Linked DNA regions of Homo sapiens: all the other regions are linked to region 6. The links are contacts of gene promoters, found by promoter capture Hi-C in blood cells and fetal thymus (Javierre and others, 2016). All regions are on one chromosome and are shown on one strand. Each heading gives the region's core, a stretch centred on a gene start or on the middle of the fragment in contact. The rest is flanking DNA. Distances are from core to core; before and after follow the strand shown.

Region 1 (3,296 bases), core at 4-2,503, about 71 Mb before region 6:
AGCCTGGTCAACATGGTGAAACCCCATCTCTACTAAAAATACAAAAAAAACTAGCCAGGCTTGGTGGTGCATGCCTGTAATTCCAGCTACTTGGGAGGCTGAGACATGAGAATCACTTGAACCCAGGAGGCAGAGGTTGCAGTGAGCTGAGATCGCACCACTGCACTCCAGCCTGGGTGACGAAATGAAACTGTCTCAAAAATAATAATAATCCAGAAAGGAAAGAAAAGCAAAGGTAGTATGTGACTAAATCCATATATCATTGACTGCATAATTCAGGAATAAAAATGCCTTATGTAGATTGACAAAGACAAAACAAAAATACATGACAATAACAGCACATAAATTAGGAGACGAGGAATTTGAAAATTGAGTTAATGGATCCTGAGATCTCAATTTGTTGAGAATGAGGGGAAAGGTACTAAATAGGCTTTGATAAATTAAGGACTTACATAGTAACTGATAATCACTAAAAGAATAGAAATAGAGCATATAACTTCCAAGCTGATAGAGGGAAAAAAATCAAATAATAATCCAAAAGAAGGCCAAAAATTGAGAGAAAAAAAAAACAAAACATAAAACAAGCAAATAAAAAGCAGGACAAAATAAGACAATAGAATTCAAACTCATAGATATGACCAATTACATTAAACATAAATAAATGACGTGCTCCAGTTATAGACACAGACTGTCTGAATTTAGGAAAATAATCCAGTTAAATTCTGTTCACAAATATATGGAAAGATAAAAATTAAAAGATTTACAAAAATCCGTACCGTGCAAATAAATACTAACTAAAGAAAGCTGATAAGCTTTAATAATATTAAACAAAATAGACTTTAGGGCTCAAAGCAGTTAGAAATAACAATAGCCAATTTACAAATATAAAAGGCTCAATCACCAACAATATATAACAACATTAAATTTGTATATATCTAATCACATGGTTTCATAATATATAATGAAAGAATAGACCCAGAAATATAAGTAGAAATAGTCCATAATCATAGCAGTAGAGTTTTAACACATAACTCTTTGAAACAGGTAAAATAAGCAGACAGAAGAAATTCAGTAAGAACACAGAAAATCTAAATTATACAATAACCAAATTTGGCATTGCAACCCCTCTAACAGCATCACTGAATTCCATCAAATATTCAAAAACAAAATAATTCCAATCTTTCAATAAGTTTTCCAGAGAATAGATAAGATAAAAAGTGGGCCAGGCGCGGTGGCTCACGCCTGTAATCCCAACACTTTGGGAGGCTGAGGCGGGTGGACCTTGAACACCTGAGGTCAGGAGTTCAAGACCAGCCTGACCAACATGGCAAAACCCCATCTCTACTAAAATACAAAAATTATTGGGGTGTGGTGGTGCGAGCCTGTAATCCCAGCTACTCGAGAGGCTGAGGCAGGAGAATCACTTGAACCCAGGAGGCAGAGGTTGCAATGAGCTGAGATCGTACCACTGTACTCCACCCTGGGCAACAGAGTGAGACTCCATCCCCCACCAAAAAAAAAAAAAAAATAGATAAAAAGTGTATAATTGCCAATGAATTGTATGAAGCTCACACACAGTATGAAAAAAAAAGACTAATCTCTTTTATAAACAGGGATGCAACATTCATAATCTGTTAAAAAATCTACATAAAATCTACAGTAAGCATAATTACTAGGTAAATACTGAAAGCTTTCCCTTGGAAGTCAAAAATGCCTGCTCTTACCACTTCCATGCAACACTGTACTAGAGATTCTAGCCAGTTCAGTAGGGCAAGAAAAAAATATATAAAGATAAGGATTGGAAAGAACTTCACAAAATTATTATTATTGGCAGATGATATACTACTATGTAATTAAAGAAATTCAAAAATCAACAGATATGTCATTCAAATTATTAAGAACTACATCAAAACAAAATTTTTAAGTAAAAAAACTAAGAATAACAGCTAAGAAAGATGCTAGTTGCAAAATTAACATAAAATCAATTATATTTCTAAAAACAGCAATATTTAGAAAATAAAATTTTCTTTAGAAAGATACCATTAACAATATCATCAAAAATATTAAGTACTTACAGAACAACATTTAACAAAATACATCAAGATTTCTTCAGGTAAAATAATTTATTAAAAACTAAATATTAATAAATGTTAAAGTAGACCATATTTATAAAATGAAAGGTTCACTATTGTAAAGATATCGTTTCTTCCCCACAGTAATTTATAAATTCAATACAATCCCAATTAATATCTCTTTTTGTGGAATTTGACAGATTCTAAAATGTACATGAAAATGCAAAGATTCAAAAATAGCAAAGATACTTAGAAAAAAACAAGGTGGGAAGATCTGCTCTCTCAGATAAAGCTACCATAACTGAGACAGTATAGTACTGATGTGAGAATACCCATCAATGGAAAAGAGATACAAATAGATCAATGGAAGAGAACAGAAAGGCCAGAAACAGCCTTGATTGATAAGAAAGGTAGCACTGCAAAGCAGTGAGATGACGATATGGACAAGCGGATATCTAAATATGAAGACACAAATGAGACTGGACCCCCAACCCAATACACAAAAATTCAACTCCACTGTTATGAAAGACAAAACTATAAAGATTTTAGCATATACAGAATGTCTTCATGACAATACAGTAGGGAATATTTTCTAAAATGAACACAAATAGCATTAGTTATAAGGAAAAAAATTGATACATTTGATTACCTTTATATTTTAATGCGTATCAAAAGACAACCTTTTAAGGAGTGAAAAGGCAGGAAAAGATACGTCTCATATACTAAAAAAGATTCATATCTAAAATATAACAAGCACGGCTGGGCGCAGTGGCTCACACCTGTAATCCCAGCACCTTGGAAGGCGGAGGCAGGCAGATCACTTGAGGTCAGGAGTTCGAGACCAGCCTGGCCAACACAGTGAAACCCCATCTCTACCAAAAAAATGCCAAAATTAGCCAGGCGTGGTGGTACACGCCTGTAGTCCCAGTTACGTGAGAATCTCTTGAACGTGGGAGGGGGGGCTGCATTGAGCAGAGATCATGCCACTGCATTCCAGCCTGGATGACAAAGCAAGACTCCACGTCAAAAAAATAAATAAATAAAAATGAAATAAAATACAGCAAGCATTTTTATAAGTCAATAAGAAAAAGGACAAAAATAGCTAACAGAAAAATAGAAGACACCCCTCAAAAAAAAATGGGCATGTATATGAAAAGACGCCCAATGTCACCCACAATCAGGGCAATACGAATTAACACCACATGCAACTATCACTTACATTCA
Region 2 (3,229 bases), core at 130-2,629, about 30 Mb before region 6:
AAAATAAGGAAACTGAAAAAGGTACTACTGGCCGGGCGCGGTGGCTCACGCCTGTAATCCCAGCACTTTGGGAGGCCAAGGTGGGCGGACCACAAGGTCAGGAGATCGAGACCATCCTGGCTAACATGGTGAAACCCCGTCTCTACTAAAAATACAAAAAATTAGCTGGGTGTGGTGGTGAACGCCTGTGGTCCCAGCTACTTGGGAGGCTGAGGCAGAATAATGGCGTGAACCCGGGAGGCGGAGCTTGCAGTGAGCCGAGATCGCACCACTGCACTCCAGCCTGAGCGACAGAGCAAGACTCCGTCTCATAAAAAAAAAAAAAAAAAAAGAAAGAAAAGAAAAAGGTACTACTAAGGATAGGAACATCTATCCATCAGACACAAAAATGCTTGAGAACTATAGAATAAAATCAACAGGTATCAATATGAAAACTCTTTAATTAAATGCCTACACGATTTAACAGTACGCCAACTTATGGTTAAATATAGTTTTCTAAATATGCCATCACTTTGAAAACATTTCTGATTTTTCAGTAATTTCTAAACACACCCTCAGTAACTGCCAAGATATCACAACACATCCACATCGTGAACTCAATGTTTCACCCGGGCAAATAATGTCAAAAGTAATGACAGTACAGCCAAAAAGTTTATTCACTGTCTAAACTACGTGGATTTAAAAATATTCTATTCTATTTGCTATGGAGTGAAGCTCCCCTTCTCCTTAAAATAACATGCTTAGTGTCTGGGAAGGGCTTTAGACATCAGGTAGAGAATGCATGAGGGAAAACGACCCAACTTTCTGAACATCCATAGTCTGCGGAAAGTTGGCTCATCCCTAACCCTGAAATAAAGCTACTGCAGCCACGAGGAAATCAAATGGCACGCTATCTGCCGTCTGCACTTGGCCCGCACCCGCGTCCTGAAGACGGGAGCGCAAGAATTCTCCCTTTCTACATGACCTGCAAGCTAAGGCTAGCACATGCCGGCACCCTACGAAGAGCCACCCGATCTCCTGTCTGGGATGCAGAGACTCGGTTTAACAGCCGACTCCACCCGCGTCCCGAGACTCTTCCAAGCTCCTTCCCGGCCCGCCGCGCCCCCTACATTCGCACATGCGTACACCCAATAACGAGAGCCGAGAGCGCTCCCCTTCGCGTGGTCCCCACGCCCAGCTGCCACGCAGCCGGTCCTCCTACCCTTCTCTGGGCGGCTAGCTTCACGATCCAGTAACGCGCATGTGCAAAACTGCGGGCCCTGTAATTCTTTAGTGGGCAGGGGTGGGGCGGTCAGTGGGACCAAGTTTCTTGCGCACGCTCCGGACATGCGCAGTGCGGGAGCTGAGGCGCCAGCTGTGGATTTGGAAGTTCCGGGGAAGTCGCGCATGCGCGAGTGTACGCGTTGCCGGCGAAGAGGGGAGCCTGACGACTCGGAAATTTGAATACCACAGTAGCATGGAGTGTGACCTCATGGAGACTGACATCTTGGAGTCGTTGGAAGATCTAGGGTAAGATTGTCAGGGCACGGGTCTCCCAAGCCCCACGCTGCCGGCCCCCTGGGAACACCTCCTGCGCCCCAGTCTGAGACACCTGCCTCTCCACGCCGCACCCCGTGGCTCCTGGCTGTCGCTTCCCTTTGGCCCCGGCACCCCCAATGCCACGTCCACTGTCTGCACTGCTAGCTCGGGGTCCTCCAATCCCAACACCCCTAGGCCTGCCCAGTGCTCCCTGCAGGCGAGCTACCCGCAGCGTTTGTCAGTCATGCGTGTCATTGTCTGGGCTCTGATTTTCGCCACCCCCACTCCCCGAGCTTCTCTCCTCGCTTCATCCTCCTGCCCTACCCCTTAACCCCTCAACTCTAAAGGTTGCCAAAGTTGATTCTGCTTTCCTACTTGTTCTCCAAATTTCCTACTCCCATCTTGAGCCCCTCCTCCTACCCCACCCCACTTCTCTCAAAATTTCTCCTTTGCCCAGTCATCTCTGCATGCACCCAGGCTTCGCTAAGCCACTTGTATGGGCGCTGCATCTGTTCCGCTGGCCAGCTCGCTTGTGCATCTAACCTATCACCACGTCCCTGGGAACCACCAGCAGTTTGCTTTGACTCTGTGATACTCTGCCTCGTTGAGCCCCATTAGACCAGGGTCGTCTTCACCCACGAAGAACCTGCGTATTTGTTTTGCATTGTGTCTCTCCTTCTCCTGATATTTATTCAACCATAATTCATCAGTATCTAGAAGCTGGAAATAGGGTTTGTTATCTCACTGGGTCACCCAGATCAGTGTACTCTATTAAACTTGAGAACGTGGACCCTCTTGGGCTAAATGTGGTTCCAGAAACAAATTGTATGGTTAGATACTTACCTACAGGTACGGTATCAAAACAAAGTACAGATTTAGCTAGCTGTATTTCTAAGTAACAAGTTCTTTATCAAAATTTTCTCTTAGGTTTTTCCATGACAAGGAAACCTTTGAGAGAAACCTTTCTTTAGGAAAAAACACCTTGAGGATTCCCAAAGTCTGCCTATTTGAATAATTTACTACCCTAGTAGAAATTTTTAGGAACGAAGTAGTCTTGCTTATCATCTGTCTTTGTCACAGTGAAATACTATTGTTCTTTTCTTGGAAACTTGCTCTGAATTTTTATAAATATTCCAGACTTTAGGGGGCTTCTTTCTTTCATTAGGGCATATGTTAAAGTCATTCAGCAAAATAGTCTCTTTAGTTGACATCTCAGACTGAATCGCTTGTTCACACATGAAACCATTCATTCATTAGGACTTTTTTAGGAACAGTTTCTTTGTGGCAGTGTTAGGCCCTTAGAGTACAAGGTGAGGTGGAAGAGGGGTTCACAGGATACTGGGAAAATATGCTGTGAGGAGCCCTGAGGAGGGTCCCTTTACTGGGAAAGGAAATGAAATCCTAGAAGCTTCTTTCTGGAATAAATGACACTATAGTACTGTAGTGGAATGAGTGGAATGAAAGGAAGGGGGTAGACCTTATTAAATGTAGTCTTTCTGCATGGATAGTGGTCACTTAAGAATTGGCCACGGATGCTGTTTCTTCCCATTATTGTCTTTTTTTTTCCCCCTCCTTTTTTTAACTTTTTATTCTTTTGGGTACTGTACAAGTAATTGTTACTGTAGTAATTGTAATCACATAACTACTTGACATAGAGTGTAATGTAAACCATGGATTTTCTGAAAACTGTTATAAATTTTAACCTTAACTA
Region 3 (3,462 bases), core at 853-3,352, about 110 Mb before region 6:
GTCACAAAATGCTTTGTTTTCCTACTGTTGGCCAAAGATTTGCCCCTGTGTTTCTGGCAGCCAAGTGGAGGTGGTATCTGTGAGTAACTGAGCATCAGGAATGTTGCAATTTACTTTATATTTATACAGCATTTTCCCTGTAAGTTTCTAATTGCCTTTGTTTTTTTCTTGTTGACAAAAGAAGCATATGCCTTTAGCTGTAGCTCAGATCAGCCAGCTTTTTTTTTTTTTTTGAGACAGAGTCTCACTCTTATCACCCATGCTGGAGTGCAGTGGTGCCAACACCACTCACTGCAGCCTCGACTTCCTTAAGTGATCCTCTTACCTCAGCTTCCTGTGTAGCTAGAGCCACAGGCATACACCACCACGCCCAGCTAATTTTTAAATTTTTTGTAGGGATGGTGTCTCACCATCTTGTCCAGGCTGGTCTTAAAACTCCTGGGCTCAGGCAATCCTCTCGCCTTGGCCTCCTGGGATTAGAGGTGTGAGCCACCGCACCTGGCCTATGCTTCTTAATCAGGCTGTTCATTAGCATGAATTCTTTGTCTTCTTGAGGATGCTTTTCTTGGAAGCTTCTGTCTTTGAGCTGATTGCTTCCTATACCTGTGGCACTCTTGATGTGCTGGTATTTCTTTTCATTGCATTTTTTCTGTGCTAGTTTTACCATTTCTTGGATCCCACGTGTGCTTTTTTCCTAAATTCCCCTTGAGTTTTCCAGTGGTCGTTAGGCCCTGTTTTCATTTCGATATCCTTAGGGAATATGGTAGACTCCCATCAGTGGCAGCATTCCATTATACTTTTAATAGATATGGGAACACAGTATTTTTCTATGTCTTCTCAATTCCTTGTCTATATTTCTGAAATCTAAAAGACACTGAAAACTGTTTTTTCTTCTTTTAGGTTTAGATACAAAGCTTATTTGGGAGCAAAACATAACCTGAATTGACTGAATTTATAGCTTTATTGATCCCACTTATGTGACTATTTATAAGTTTTGCTAAATAAATTTTTTTTTATTATAGAGTGTGACTCTAGATTTTCCTGGGTTCTTACATAATATATAATATGTATCCCTTAGGTATTCTAAGGAACTAAATCTAAAAAATTCAGAATTCTGAAACACATCTGACCCAAAGGGTTTGGATAAGGGATTGAGGATGTGTTATATTCCCTGGTAAGTGCTTGATGTGTGTCTCTTAAGTGCAGAGCCATGAACTGTAACTGTGGGCAAAGCTGGAGACGGGTTTACGTGACTAAGGACCCACCAGAGTCAGCAGTGCATCAGGTAGCTCATTCTTTATTATCTGTAGAAGACATGTTACAGCCACAGGGTACTGAGTCATCTAAAAATCTTTTCTGTTTGGTTTTGGAATGTGTTCTGTTTGGTGTTCCCCCCCACCATAGAGTTTCTGGTTAGGTGCAGTTTAGACTAAAACTGCCTTATGTTTGCCGTCTTCCAGTATATCTAGTCAATTTAATGGGTGGGCTGGACGTATGTCCAAGGAGCACACTTGCCTATTGACGGCATGGTTGTCTCTCAAGCTGTCTTCTTTATGTGCCCAATTGAGGCCTTGTTCTCTGTCATCTTTCTTTGCTGAGAGTTCCATAAGCTTCTATCCTCTACTTCTATCTTCTTCTGAAGCCCCATTAACAGAGGGTCCTATGGCCAGAGGCCCATAAATGGGATTTTACATTTATAACTGAGTTCATTTCAACAACAAACATTTTATTGGGCATCTGTGTTCCAAGCACTTGCATGTGTATTTTATTATTTTACCTTCACTACCGCTTTGAGTAGGGATTATCCCTAGTTTTATGATAGGAGTATTGGACCTGGACCAAGTTACTTGCCAAAAGTTTCAGAGTTGTGGTGGAACTTGAATTTAGACCCAGGTTTAATTCACTGTCTTTCAAGCTGTTTGCAGTGGAGAAGAAAGCAGTGCACTGAACACTCTTAAAAACTAAAGGAGTCAAACTAGTCACAGCTGGGCATGTTAAAATCTTAGTCTAGGAAACCGGCCTGGTGACCTCTGCAATTGCTAATTTCTGTGATTTTTAGGAAATCTGAAGGATCCACCTAGAGCCGCAGGTAGAAGCTGAAAGGGGATTGTTAGATTTCTGGAAGAAGTCTTTCTCACTTTCTTTCCCTACCCCCAGCCTGCCTGCATTTTCCTCCATGTCCTCACCTTGGCTGCCAAGACTGTCCAGACTTGGCAGTAATTTCTGAGAGGTGGGTTTAAGAGGGTTGTAAATCCTAGGATGACCCGTGATAGCCTTCTCTCTGGACCTTTATGAACTGGGTGAGTAGGCTGGCTCCGAAGAGTGGCCAGGAAATGCCATGTCTGAAGGCAGGGGGTTAGGCTGGATGGTGGTGTGGGTCCCAGCCTCTTGTTTTTAAGCTATTATGTATGGTTCTAGGCAATTGGTAACTCTATGCAAACCAATATATCTGTAGCCACAAGAGGGAGCTCTCCTCCTGCTGAACCAAAATGTAACTAAGGAAAGGCTGTATTGATCACGTGCCCCTGCATAGTTAGTTGGGACCTGCATTGAGCAAAACCAGAACTGATATTCATTTTCATTTGCTAAGCTTGGAGTTTAGGCAGCAGTACCAGTTGAACACTCATCTCTTCTTACAAGTTTCAAGGAAATTAAATAAGCTATGAGAGTCTGATGGAGATCAAAATTTTAAAAAAAGCTTAACAGAGAACCTTAGATATGTTGCCAAATGGGTTTGTTAGTGCTTCACTACCAAGCTATCCCATGTGAGTCCCAAGCAGACCTGGACAACCACTGGCTTCCCCTGTGGGGCAGGCAACATATCTTATGGCAGAAAAGATGCATGTGTCCCAAAGACAGGCTGCCCAGAAAGGAAGGGCACCAGGAGTGGCTGAGAGCTGCATGAAAATTTTCTTCTTCCTCTCAGGACTTTTGTTTTGTTTTGTTTTAAGAGACAGAGTTCCACTCTTGCCTGGTCTAGGGTGCTGTGGCGTGATCTTAGCTCTCTGCAGCCTCAAACGCCTAGGCTTAAGTGATCTTCCTGCCTTAGTCTTTTGAGTAGCTGGGACTGTAGGAATGCACCATTATGCCTGGCTAATTTTTAAATTTTTTTATGCAGACAAGGTCTTACTATGTTGCCCAGGCTGGTCTCAAACTCCTGGCCTCAAGTGACCTCCCTCCTTGGCCTTCCAAAGCACTAGGATTACATGCATGAGCTACCATGCCTGGCCCCTCTCAGGACTTGTGGATAAATCACTCTTCACCCCTTCCTCTGTTAGGGAGGAAGGGTGAGGGGGAAGAGGCAGCAAATATTCTCCTATATGCTTCCCTCCTAGGAGGAAGATACTCCCTCTCTTCTATGAATGTGTGCAGTGAGGGATTAATCTCCCCCCTTCCATATTTTTTTCTATTAACACATTGGATCTGACATTTGATCTTATGATCAGTGGGGTATTACTGTTG
Region 4 (3,263 bases), core at 747-3,246, about 92 Mb before region 6:
AGGCTCTGGAGACAGACTGCCTGAAATCAAAATCCACCTCTGCCTCTTCCTACCGGTGCTACCTCAGGAAAGTTTCTTAACCTGTCTCAGTCTGCCTGTTTGCAAAACTGGAATAACGGAAGTAATATCTCTTGCAGTTATCTTGATGCTTAAATAGGGTAACACATGTAACACATTTAGAATAATGTGCTAAGTAAAGTTAGTATAAGCTAATGTAATGTAATAAGTAATGTTATAATTCTAGGAAGGTAGACACACTGAAAATATTAATTACACTGAGTTGTTGCATTTTTTTGTTTGTTTTTTTTGAGACAGGGTCTCGCTCTGTCTCCCGGGCTGGAGTGCAATGACATTATCTCGGCTCACTGCAACCTCTGCCTCCCCGGTTCAAGCGATTCTCCTGCCTCAGCCTCCTGAGTAGCTGGGATTATAGGTGCCTGCCACCATGCCTGGCTAATTTTTGTATTTTTGTAGAGGGTTTCACCATCTTGGCCGGGCGGGTCTTGAACTCCTGACCTCAGGTGATCTCCCCACCTTGGCATCCCAAAGTGCTGAGATTATAGGCATGAGCCACTGCGCCTGGCCGAGTTGCTGCTATTTTAGAGTAGGTTTAAATGTAAGTGCAGTAATAACTTTGGAGTCAAAGTATTTGTATATGTTTGTCTAAAGCACTGGAGCTTTTTGAACAAATCAAACCATATCCAAAACTGCAGTCGAAACTGCTCAGTGTTAAATGTTTAAAGACAATTTTCAAAGTTTTGTTTATTAGATTACAACTTTAATTAAACTGAGCACTGAACGAATTACAAATGGTGGTGAACATATAAGCTCCCCAGTTATTAAACAACCAGTGGATACTCCCAAAGTGCTCCTCATCCGTAGACTTCTCTCCCCATTAGGTTTAGACTCCACCAGCAGTCACTTCAGTAAGCTCACTGACACTGAAGACTTCTCAAATCCACCAAACTCACAGGGAGTTACTGCTAGCCAAGAACCACCTCCACTTCTGTGTTCTCTTTTCCTATCCCTGCATCTCAGAGTATCACTGGAGAAAATGTCCCCTAAATTCAGTCTATATCTTCAAACGAGCCCTTGACATCGTCCAGAAAGCTTTTACTGCTCCCATCTTAGCTACATGGCTATTCCAAACCTCCATGGGTACCATTCAATTTCCGCATAACTTTTGTCTTCTACCACACCAAAGATTCCCAGGAATGAGTTTCAAGGGAAGCAGGGTTATATGGTAGAAAGCATTCCACAAGCATGGAATTATTAACCATGAAGCCTTGGATGAGTTACTTAAGCCAACAGTTGTTTACCACCTAACTCACAGCATAGTTATAAATGGTGAGACCATTAATATAAAGCATTTATCATACAGTTCATTCAACAAATAAAGTTCTCTTCCTTTCTACTGCCCAATGCAATCCATCCACTCATCCCACTATTTGATGAATATGTACCAAGTAGCTGTTATGTGCTAGGGCAGCGAGATGTGTGAGGTCAACAAGACAGAAATGTCTGTCTCCAGGACTTTACCTTTGTGTCCTATACCCTGGGTTCCACTGTTTTTCACATTGCTTCCTCTCAGAATTTGTCCCTGCACTTCCCAGTATTTTTTTTTTTTTTTTTTGAGACGGAGTCTGGCTCTGTCGCCCAGGCTGGAGTGCAATGGCACGATCTTGGCTCACTGCAACCTCTGCCTCCCAGGTTCAAGCGATTCTCCTGCCTCAGCCTCCTGAGTAGCTGGGACTACAGGCGCGGGCCACCATGCCCAGCTAATTTTTGTATTTTTAGTAGAGACAGAGTTTCACCATTTTGGCCAGGATGGTTTCAATCTCTTGACCTCATGATCTGCCTGCCTCAGCCTCCCACAGTGCTGGGATTACAGGCATGAGCCACAGCGCCCAGACCCCAGTCTTTTTTTTTTTTTCTTCCAGCATTTTCCACCCCAGTAGCACTTTCTTTCAACATCTTCAAAGACATACAAGCCTCCTCTACCTGAAACTATTTTCACTGAATCCCATGACCTCCTTCTAGCAAAGCAGTTCTCATTTAGGTTGTCCTTTCATGATCAAACTTTTTGGAGAATAATAACCTACTGACTCCACACTGTTACCACTTACTCTTCTCCAGTCCCTGTTTTTCAGCTTTTGCCCCTCACACACCTGAAATGGCATGCTTGAAAACTACTTTTTTTTTTTTTTTTTGAGACGGAATTTCACTCTTGTCGCCCAGGCTGAAGAGCAATGGCATCATCTCGGCTCACTGCAACCTCCACCTCTCGGGCTCAAGTGATTCTCCCACCTCAGCCTCCCAAGTAGCTGGGATTACAGGCACCCGCCATCATGCCCTGCTAATTTTTGTATTTTTGTAGAGACGGGGTTTCACCATGTTGGCCAGGCTGGTCTTGAACTCCTGACGTCAAGTGATCTGCCCACCTCGGCTTCCCAAAGTGCTGGGATTACAGGCATGAGCTACCGCACCTGGCCTACCAATGCATTTCTGATCCTATTATCTCTATTTCTTTCTTTTTTTTTTTTTTTTTTTTTGAGACTGAGTCTCGCTCTGTCACCCAGGCTGGAGTGCAGTGGCGCAATCTTGGCTCACTGCAAGCTCCGCCTGCCGGGTTCATGCCATTCTCCTGCCTCAGCCTCCCGAGTAGCCGGGACTACAGGCGCCCGCCACCACGCCCGGCTAATTTTTTGTATTTTTTTAGTAGAGACGGGGTTTCACCGTGTTAGCCAGGATGGTCTCGATCTCCTGACCTCGTGATCCGCCCGCCTCAGACTCCCAAAGTGCTGGGACTTACAGGCGTGAGCCACTGTGCCCGGCCATATTATCTATTTCTCTGTAGCTTTTCACTGTTCGGACAAGCTTCTGCTTATTCAAGTGGTTACTGTAACTGCTATGATACTGCACTAGCTTTTCTTCCAACCACTAAAATTGCTGTCTTTCTGTGACTCTTTTTCCCCACTTTTGCCCTGGAAACATGGATGCTGCCCATAGCTCAGTCTTTGTACTTTCTTCGTTTTTGCCATCCCTCAGAAAGTCCATCCACATTCAGGGCTCCATTTTCAAACTCTACAGATGTCCATGTCCTGTAATTGTATTGTAATTTTACAATACAACTGTATTGCATTCTTCCAGACTCATCCTGCATTTCCAAATGACTGCAAACCTTAAATCAGGCGTTCCACCATCACCTCAAAACTATCTTCCTTTAGGCAATTCCACACATCAACGCCTCTTCCTGGCTTTAC
Region 5 (3,367 bases), core at 100-2,599, about 120 Mb before region 6:
CAATGCTGTTTCCACCACTTCGGAAAGGAATATCCATGAACTCTCTTGCAGGAAAATGGGAATTTCCAGAGAGAAACCACTTCTCCCCTTTCTTCTCTTCCCACGTCCTCTTCAGGAGCCTATAATTGGGCTCTGCCAGCATACTCTGACTGGCTAACGAAGGGTCAGATATCTGCAGTAGTAACAAAAGGCTCTTTTTCTACATGTCTACACCTCCTGGGGAGTCTTTGCTTAAACCTCTACTGGCCCTCCTCCGATCCAAAGGCAAGAATGTTCCCCTCTCTGTCCAAGACTAAAATGAACAAGTAAGGAAATGGATTTTACTCAGCCTATTGCAATAGGGAGAGCACTCCAGATATGATCAGTGTCTTGGCAGCGTAGTTTTGACTTTTATAGGGAGGAAGGTGGGATGATTGACAGTTGGGATTGTTTTGCAATCAGGAGAAGTTTCAGTCAGGTGAACAGGAAATGTTCTCTGTGTCTAACAAGTTGGGGGGAGGAGAGTTCTAATCTCAACTAATCACTCGATATCATCAGCGGGAATTTGGAAGGTCTGTTTGGCTTTATTAACAGGCTCAGAATAAAGGGGAAAGGTCTCTGGCCTTGTCACAGGCAAACAAGGGGGTCATCTGCACGCGTTTTATCTGAGTCACATGGAGACGGGTGGTTCTTTACAGTGTGCCGTTCCAGAAACACAAATAGATGAGGGGGTTTCTTAATCACCGCTGTTTTCCAGGAACACAGGGCTCAGGTAAAGTTCAACTTCACCTTCCTCCGGTGTTTCATCAGGGGAACCCTTCTGGAAGCAAAGACGTGTACTTCTTACTGTTGGCTAAATGGCTTCTTAACAAGGAAATTAAATCGTTGTTTAGAATGAAAGAGAGGAAGACGCCGGGAGAGGAGGCGCTGTGGATCGCGCCAGTTAGTAACGCATCACAGCTCGCGGGCGTCATACTACAAGTCCCAGTGAGCAACGCCCGCTTTCTTGCCTACTGCGGGCGGGAACCAGGCGCCTCTGGGCCTGACGGGAAAGACAGTGGTTTGGCTGAATGACGGAAAAGTCATTTGAGCAGGTCTTCATTTTTCGGAAGAGTATCTCAAAAGCTCTTCAAACAAGGCACGGACACAGAATCTAGGAAATGATAAAGAATCAATGATAACGTTATTACCACGGGGGTCAGACCAGGATCCACCCGAGGAAGGTATTTAACTAAAGCCCGAGTTCCAGCTCAATTTTCCCAGGAGTCTCCTTTCCGGCCGTGCCTGGCGTCATTGCTGTTGCGTCTTCTCATTGGCCGGTTGACGGGTTGCGGCGCCTGCGCGCTGCATTCCTTTGAGGGTCGTGGGCAGACGCCATTTTGGCCCCAGCGGTGCTTCTAGGAAGTAGAACGCCGGCTCGCATGCCTGCCCGCCCGCCAGCCTGCCGGGTACGGCCTTTTCCGCCGGGGCTTCCAGGTCAAAGAATTCGCCTTTGCCGCTACCGCTTTCTTACCCTCCGCACCCGTTAAGTTCTCCGGTCGGGCGGCAGTCTCTGAACACTTAGCCGCGCCATCCGGGGTCACACCGCCTGGAAGGAGGTGACGGGGGCGGCGCGGGGCGCGGACACTCCCCGCTGAGAGTCCGCCTGCCATGGACTCGGAATATTACAGCGGCGACCAGTCAGGTGGGGCAGGGACCTGGGGGACCGGGCTGGGAGGCGGAGCAGTTACTCGGCGGGGCTTGGCCTGGCACCCCGCGGGTGGGGGCAAGGAGGCCCCCCGAAACCTTCCCTCCCGCGACCCGGCCCGAGGAGGGCAAGAGCCCTCTGACCAGCTGCAAGCGTCGAAGCTAGAACGTTGGAGAGGGGATTCTGGTGGGAAAGCTTTCTTCTGAATCGGCGAAGGTTTTTGCTGAAATTGGGAAGTCACTTTCATATGTTAAGCTCCTATTGTGTGCAGGGAAGGAGAGGTGTCTTCTGTTAAGAGAGTTTTCAGTAGTTGAGTAGTTGGAGAATCCAAGGGGCGTTGGGGCGGGGGATCCTTCCTAGACTTTTCACTGCTAGTTAGGAGTGGTTTAATCTTGCTTGCAACACCGGACGTAAGTGCAGGACCCATGTTTCAGTTGCATGCATAGAGTAAGGAATGCGCTTCTGGCACTTACTGGTGGTTTTTGTGCCTTTCCTCCACCTTGAGATCGTTCCTCTTCCTCCTCACCGAAGTTTGGTCTCCTTTCTTTACTGTTTGTTTATTCTGTAAGCTGTTACTGGGGCCCACTCTGCTGGCACGGTGCTTGGCACCTGAGATTAAGGATAAGTGAGGCAGAACCTGGTGTGGGAAACACGTCGCATTTGCTTTCCCTTTGTGTGCTAGTCCTGTTGGGGCGTTCTGTTACAAAAGTTCTTAAATACACCATAAATAAATACACCCTCTATGTACCCACAAAAATTGAAAATTAAAAAGAAAACTTGAGTGCTTAAATAATTGTTTAAGCGTTAAGCCCTTTACTGTTTTGAGTTCATTGCTTTTCCTTACGTAGGACAGTGAATTCTAATGACTGCAAAGCGTTTTCCAGGCATGCACTGCTTAAAAACACTTTCCTAAGCCAGGTGCGGTGGATTATGCCTGTAATCCCAGCACTTTGGGAGGCGTAGGCGGCCGATGGCTTGAGCCCAGGAGTTCGAGACCAGCCTGGGCAACATAGTGAGACCAACACCACCCCCACCCCCCATGCCCGTACCCCACCCCCCTACGCCCCTACCCCACCCCCCTACTTCGTCTCTACAAAAAAATGCAAAAATTAGCCGAGTGTGGTGGCATACACCTGTAGTCCCAGTTACTCAGGAGGCTGAAGTGGGAGGATCCTTTGAGCCCTGAGCCCGGGAGGCAGAGGTTGCAGTGAGCGGAAGTTGCACCACTGCACTCCAAGCCTGGGCGACAGAGCAAGACTCTGTCTCAAAAAAAACAAAAACAAAAACAAAAACAAAAAAACACTTTCCTGATACTTTCAGAATAGTTTTTTTTCCATTCATTTGTGTTTTTAAGTTACTTTTTAAAAAGTAGACCGAGCACGGTGGCAAACACCTGAGGTCAGGAGTTTGAGACCAGCCTGGCCAACGTGGTGAAGCCCATCTCTACTAAAAATACAAAAAATTAGCCAGGCGTGGTGGCGGGCACCTGTAATCCCAGCTACTCAGGAGGCTGAGGCAGGAGAATCACTTGTTGAACCCGGGGGGGTGGAGGTTGCAGTGAGCTGAGATCACACCATTGCACTCCAGCCTGGGCCAAAAGAGCAAAACTGTGTCTCCAAAAAAAAAAAAAGTAATTATATGTAATACATGTATATAGGTTAAAATACGATTTTACTCTGTATTTTTTAAAGTATTGGGGCT
Region 6 (3,533 bases), core at 587-3,086:
TGGGCTCCCGAAGTGCTGGAATTACAGGCGTGAGCCACAGTGCCTGGCATCTGGCTCCTATTTTTAAAAGGTCACTCTGGGTGCTGTGCATAGAATGGATTGCACTGGGGCAAAAATGGAAGCGGTGTGAGGAGGGGGAATTTCAGTAGTCAATTCCATCAGGCAAGAAAAGACTGCAGAAAGAGTTGGGCTGGAGAGAAGTGAATGGATTTGCGGTGTGTTTCGAAGGTCAAAGCAACATGACTTGCTGATAGATTGGATTGGATCTTGAGGGTGAGGAAAAGCAAAACTGAGAGTACACCTAGATTTTTTTATTAAGCCACTGGGCAGTCAGTGCTGCCGTTCACTGAGACGGGAAAGGTTAGGGAGAAGCATGTTTGGGGGTGTGTGTGGGGAATCAGTTGTTTTGGCCATGTTAGGTTTGACACACTGATTAGCCATGTATGTGACAACACCAACTGGATACTCAAGCCTGAGGTTCTGGAATGAGGTCCAGGTTGGAGATGTGGCTGCAGGAGCCGGCAGCACAGCATGGAAAGTCGCCTGGAGTGAGTGGATAGGAACAGGACGAGGAGAGTCTGGAACGCTCCACTAACCAGTGGTTAGAGGAGCAGGAGCTAGGAGGGGCCTGGGAAGGAGCAGCCAAGATGCCCTCATGAAGGAAAATGAGAAAATGTTTCAAGAAGGGCGTGGGCAACTGTGACGAATGTTGCTGGTAAGAACAGAAGTGCCATGATTGGATCTGGCAATATGGCAGTCATTAGCAGTTCCCCAGTGGTGAGAAGCGAAGCCTTATTGCAGTGGCTTAAGGAGAAAATGCGAGGTGCGAGATTGCCATTAGATTCTTGCATGAAGGTTTGTCATGAGTGCTGCAGAAAAATGGGCAATGGCGTCTAAGGTGTGTTCTTGAAGGATGAGTAGTAACTGGTCAAGTGAAGAGGTGGAGAGGTAGGCTCTCTAAGGAGGATGTATTTGCAAAGCCATTAGAGCAAGGGAACAGAAATGAAATAAGTGTGTATTTTTCTTGCAATATTTCTGGAAGTTCAAGAGTCAATTGCATGCATTGGGGTTGTGCTCTTACAGCAGTCTCATTTAAATCCTGTCTGCTTTATCGTTATTTGTTAAAGAGACTGAGGGAATGGCTGAGATAATCTGATCTTTTTCAACTCGTTGGTTTGAAAAGACATCTAGGATGGTCAAGCGGCTGGACTTTATTAGCTACATTGAAAAATTCAGAATGGGATAGGGGAAGCTTGTTTTTATTCTAAGACTAGCACATTACAGTGTATGGGGAAGGGAGAAACGATGAAAAGAGGAAACAAGAGGAAGTTTAAAAAGTACAGGGTAGCACTGCAGAATGCCGACACTGCAAAAGTCTGGCGAGCGGGGAGGTGGAGGACAATGTCTCACCTGGGATCCGAGCTGTGAAGTCTCAACTGTGCCCATATGGACTGCATGAGCTTAACAAAATCCTTATTCTTTTTTTTTTTTTTTTGCATTTGCTTTCCATACTCTAAACACGTTTAACGTCGTTTGCCTCACAAGATTGCTCTGAAGGTGCAGGGAGACCGCGGCAGCACACACAAGGCACGTGCGATGCCTACGGTGAGCTTCACCTGCCCGGCGCGTCTGGCGAACGGCTGGCCCCGGGCCGCGGGCCTCAGGCAGGTCCGAGGGTGCCCAGGACAGGGTCGGGGCTTGAATGCCTTTGCTTCCGAAAACAGCGGAGCCGTGGGGCCTCCCCCGCGCCGGCCCTGCCTCCAACCAGCCGCCCAATCCCGGCTCCCATGCGCGTCCACGCCTCCCTATAAGATAAAGCGCGGCCGACGGGCTCCGAGCGCGGCCCCTGGGTTCGAACACGGCACCCGCACTGCGCGTCATGGTGCAGGCCTGGTATATGGACGACGCCCCGGGCGACCCGCGGCAACCCCACCGCCCCGACCCCGGCCGCCCAGTGGGCCTGGAGCAGCTGCGGCGGCTCGGGGTGCTCTACTGGAAGGTACGCGAGCCCAAGCCTCGCAGAGCGTGCGGGCGACGCCGACCCCCAAACGCCGCGCACAGCCCAGCCTCCTCCAGGTGCCGGGCAGCGGCCTGGGAGCCGCGGCATGCTGCGCATGCTCAGCAGCGGGATTTGGGGGTTCGTGGCGGCTCCCGGTGCCTGGGGTGGGCTGCGCATGCTCAGCAGTGGGGCTGGGTGGTCAGGGCCTCCTGCGCGGCGCCTGGGTGTGCTGCGCATGCTCAGCAGCGGCGTTGAGGGGTCGGCGGTCAGCCCCCAGCGCCTGTGGTGTGCTGCGCATGCTCAGCAGCGAAGTTTACGGGGTTGGCGGTCGGCTTCCGGCGCCTGGGGTGGGCTGCGCATGCTCAGCAGCGGGGCTGGTGGGGGTCGGCGGTCCGTTTCTGTTGCCTGGGGTGTGCTGCGCATGCTCAGCAGCAGAGTTGGCGAGTCAGGGGCCTCGCAGCCGGGACTCGCTGCGCACGCGCAGCTCCGGGATTGGCAGCGACCTGAAGGGTCGGCCGGCAGGGCTGCAAGATTCGCCGGAGGCGGGCTGCGAGTTCGTGGGCTCGTTGGGCTTGTCCGACGCCCTGCCTGCCTGGCTAACCTCGGTCAAAGGCCCAGGGGTTTCTTCTATCGGAGGAAGGGGGACTCCGCTTGAAAGTGTCCTGGGGGAGGGACCGGGCGCCAGCAGATCGAGGCGGGGTCCTGCCGCGGTCTGTCGGGGATCCCCGGGGGGTAGCGCTCGGTGGTGGGGTGGGGGCGTCTCCAGTGGGCGGTGGAGCTGGCTTGGGTCCCGGCTGGGCCCGGTGTCAGCCCTGCCTCTGTAACGCTAGCTTTGCAAGGCGGGGCTAGGCTTTGCACCGGTGTCCCGTTGCTTGCACAGCACCAGTCCAGATCCGCTCACCTTGTTTATTTGCAAATGGTTTTGCAGTAACAAAGGTTTACTGCAAAAGAGAGGGCCAGGGTAGGCCTCAGGGATAGGCTGAGGGGTGACTGGATCTAATCTTCATTCATGTGATTTAAATGAAATACACAGGGTTACCTGGACACCACACTTTTTCCCTTGGGAAAGGATTATAGAATATTCCAGCATAATCTATTTGGATATCATCTTGTTCTATCCTAAATAACAGAAGAGGGAAGTGACAATTGGCATACCAGTGCGAAACAGGGCATGCATGTTAATGTTTACATAGTATTTGTCTTTTCCTAGGATAAGGTTTAACACTTACCTTGCTGGAGGGTACTTCTTCAAAGCAATCAAGTGGTTTATAGTTTTCCATTAATGAGAGGAGAATAAATTTTGACTTATTATGTTTATCCACAATCCAAACAACCAGAGGGTTCAAATTAATACACTTGGGGAGTTTCATTGTGCATTTGACGGTTTTAAGAACAAGAACAAGAGTGAGATTACAGGTCAGCTTCTTAATGTATTCAAAGAATAAAATAAGATTTATTTTAATAGACATCTTTTAGATTATTACATGGGCTCAAACATAGTTTTTCCTACCGTCTAGTTCTGCTCTGAGTCAGG

Evidence for each region. The method cuts DNA at HindIII sites, captures the fragments that hold promoters and counts their contacts. A CHiCAGO score of 5 or more calls a contact.
Region 1: a contact is called between a fragment that was not itself captured here and the fragment with the promoter of ADI1 in region 6, in 1 of 17 cell types (non-activated CD4 T cells). The highest score is 6.1, in non-activated CD4 T cells.
Region 2: the fragment with the promoter of FAM98A here is called in contact with the fragment with the promoter of ADI1 in region 6 in 3 of 17 cell types (non-activated CD4 T cells, total CD4 T cells and activated CD4 T cells); the score reaches 11.2 in non-activated CD4 T cells.
Region 3: a fragment that was not itself captured here is called in contact with the fragment with the promoter of ADI1 in region 6 in 3 of 17 cell types (total B cells, naive CD8 T cells and non-activated CD4 T cells); the score reaches 12.1 in total B cells.
Region 4: a fragment that was not itself captured here is called in contact with the fragment with the promoter of ADI1 in region 6 in 3 of 17 cell types (activated CD4 T cells, total B cells and total CD4 T cells); the score reaches 9.7 in activated CD4 T cells.
Region 5: a contact is called between the fragment with the promoter of IWS1 here and the fragment with the promoter of ADI1 in region 6, in 1 of 17 cell types (total CD8 T cells). The highest score is 9.5, in total CD8 T cells.

What each region holds. Positions count from the first base shown.
Region 1 is chr2:74,963,323-74,966,618 of GRCh38, reverse strand. The region is part of intron 3 of POLE4 (DNA polymerase epsilon 4, accessory subunit); the gene reads right to left. Among named protein-coding and RNA genes, the nearest start is that of POLE4, 6.3 kb to the right of the region's middle. The HindIII fragment of the contact is 878 bases long and covers 815-1,692 here.
Region 2 is chr2:33,597,449-33,600,677 of GRCh38, reverse strand. It overlaps FAM98A (family with sequence similarity 98 member A), which reads left to right and starts at 1,379. Exons shown (of 8, transcript NM_015475.5): 1 at 1,379-1,509. The coding sequence starts at 1,457. It overlaps LOC105374455 (a long non-coding RNA gene), which reads right to left and starts at 1,333. Exons shown (of 3, transcript XR_939942.3): 1 at 1-1,333. RefSeq lists enhancers at 866-1,095, 1,236-1,285, 1,316-1,385, 1,936-2,125. The HindIII fragment of the contact is 3,614 bases long and covers 1-2,928 here.
Region 3 is chr2:118,002,524-118,005,985 of GRCh38, reverse strand. The region is part of intron 3 of CCDC93 (CCC complex scaffolding subunit CCDC93); the gene reads left to right. Among named protein-coding and RNA genes, the nearest start is that of CCDC93, 9.8 kb to the left of the region's middle. The HindIII fragment of the contact is 980 bases long and covers 1,613-2,592 here.
Region 4 is chr2:95,166,795-95,170,057 of GRCh38, reverse strand. All of the region lies in intron 1 of ZNF2 (zinc finger protein 2), which reads right to left. Among named protein-coding and RNA genes, the nearest start is that of ZNF2, 2.6 kb to the right of the region's middle. The HindIII fragment of the contact is 1,767 bases long and covers 1,113-2,879 here.
Region 5 is chr2:127,524,471-127,527,837 of GRCh38, reverse strand. IWS1 (interacts with SUPT6H, CTD assembly factor 1) reads left to right here and starts at 1,349. Exons shown (of 14, transcript NM_017969.3): 1 at 1,349-1,663. The coding sequence starts at 1,630. RefSeq lists enhancers at 750-819, 1,060-1,109, 1,370-1,429, 1,960-2,019, 2,030-2,109 and 1 more and silencers at 855-1,028, 1,670-1,779. The HindIII fragment of the contact is 4,097 bases long and covers 1-1,863 here.
Region 6 is chr2:3,517,834-3,521,366 of GRCh38, reverse strand. It overlaps ADI1 (acireductone dioxygenase 1), which reads left to right and starts at 1,836. Exons shown (of 4, transcript NM_018269.4): 1 at 1,836-1,999. The coding sequence starts at 1,880. LOC124907725 (a long non-coding RNA gene) reads right to left here and starts at 1,821. Exons shown (of 2, transcript XR_007086195.1): 1 at 1,411-1,821. RefSeq lists enhancers at 1,128-1,648, 1,649-2,170 and silencers at 1,590-1,719, 1,790-2,109, 2,190-2,249, 2,730-2,929. The HindIII fragment of the contact is 6,500 bases long and covers 1,255-3,533 here.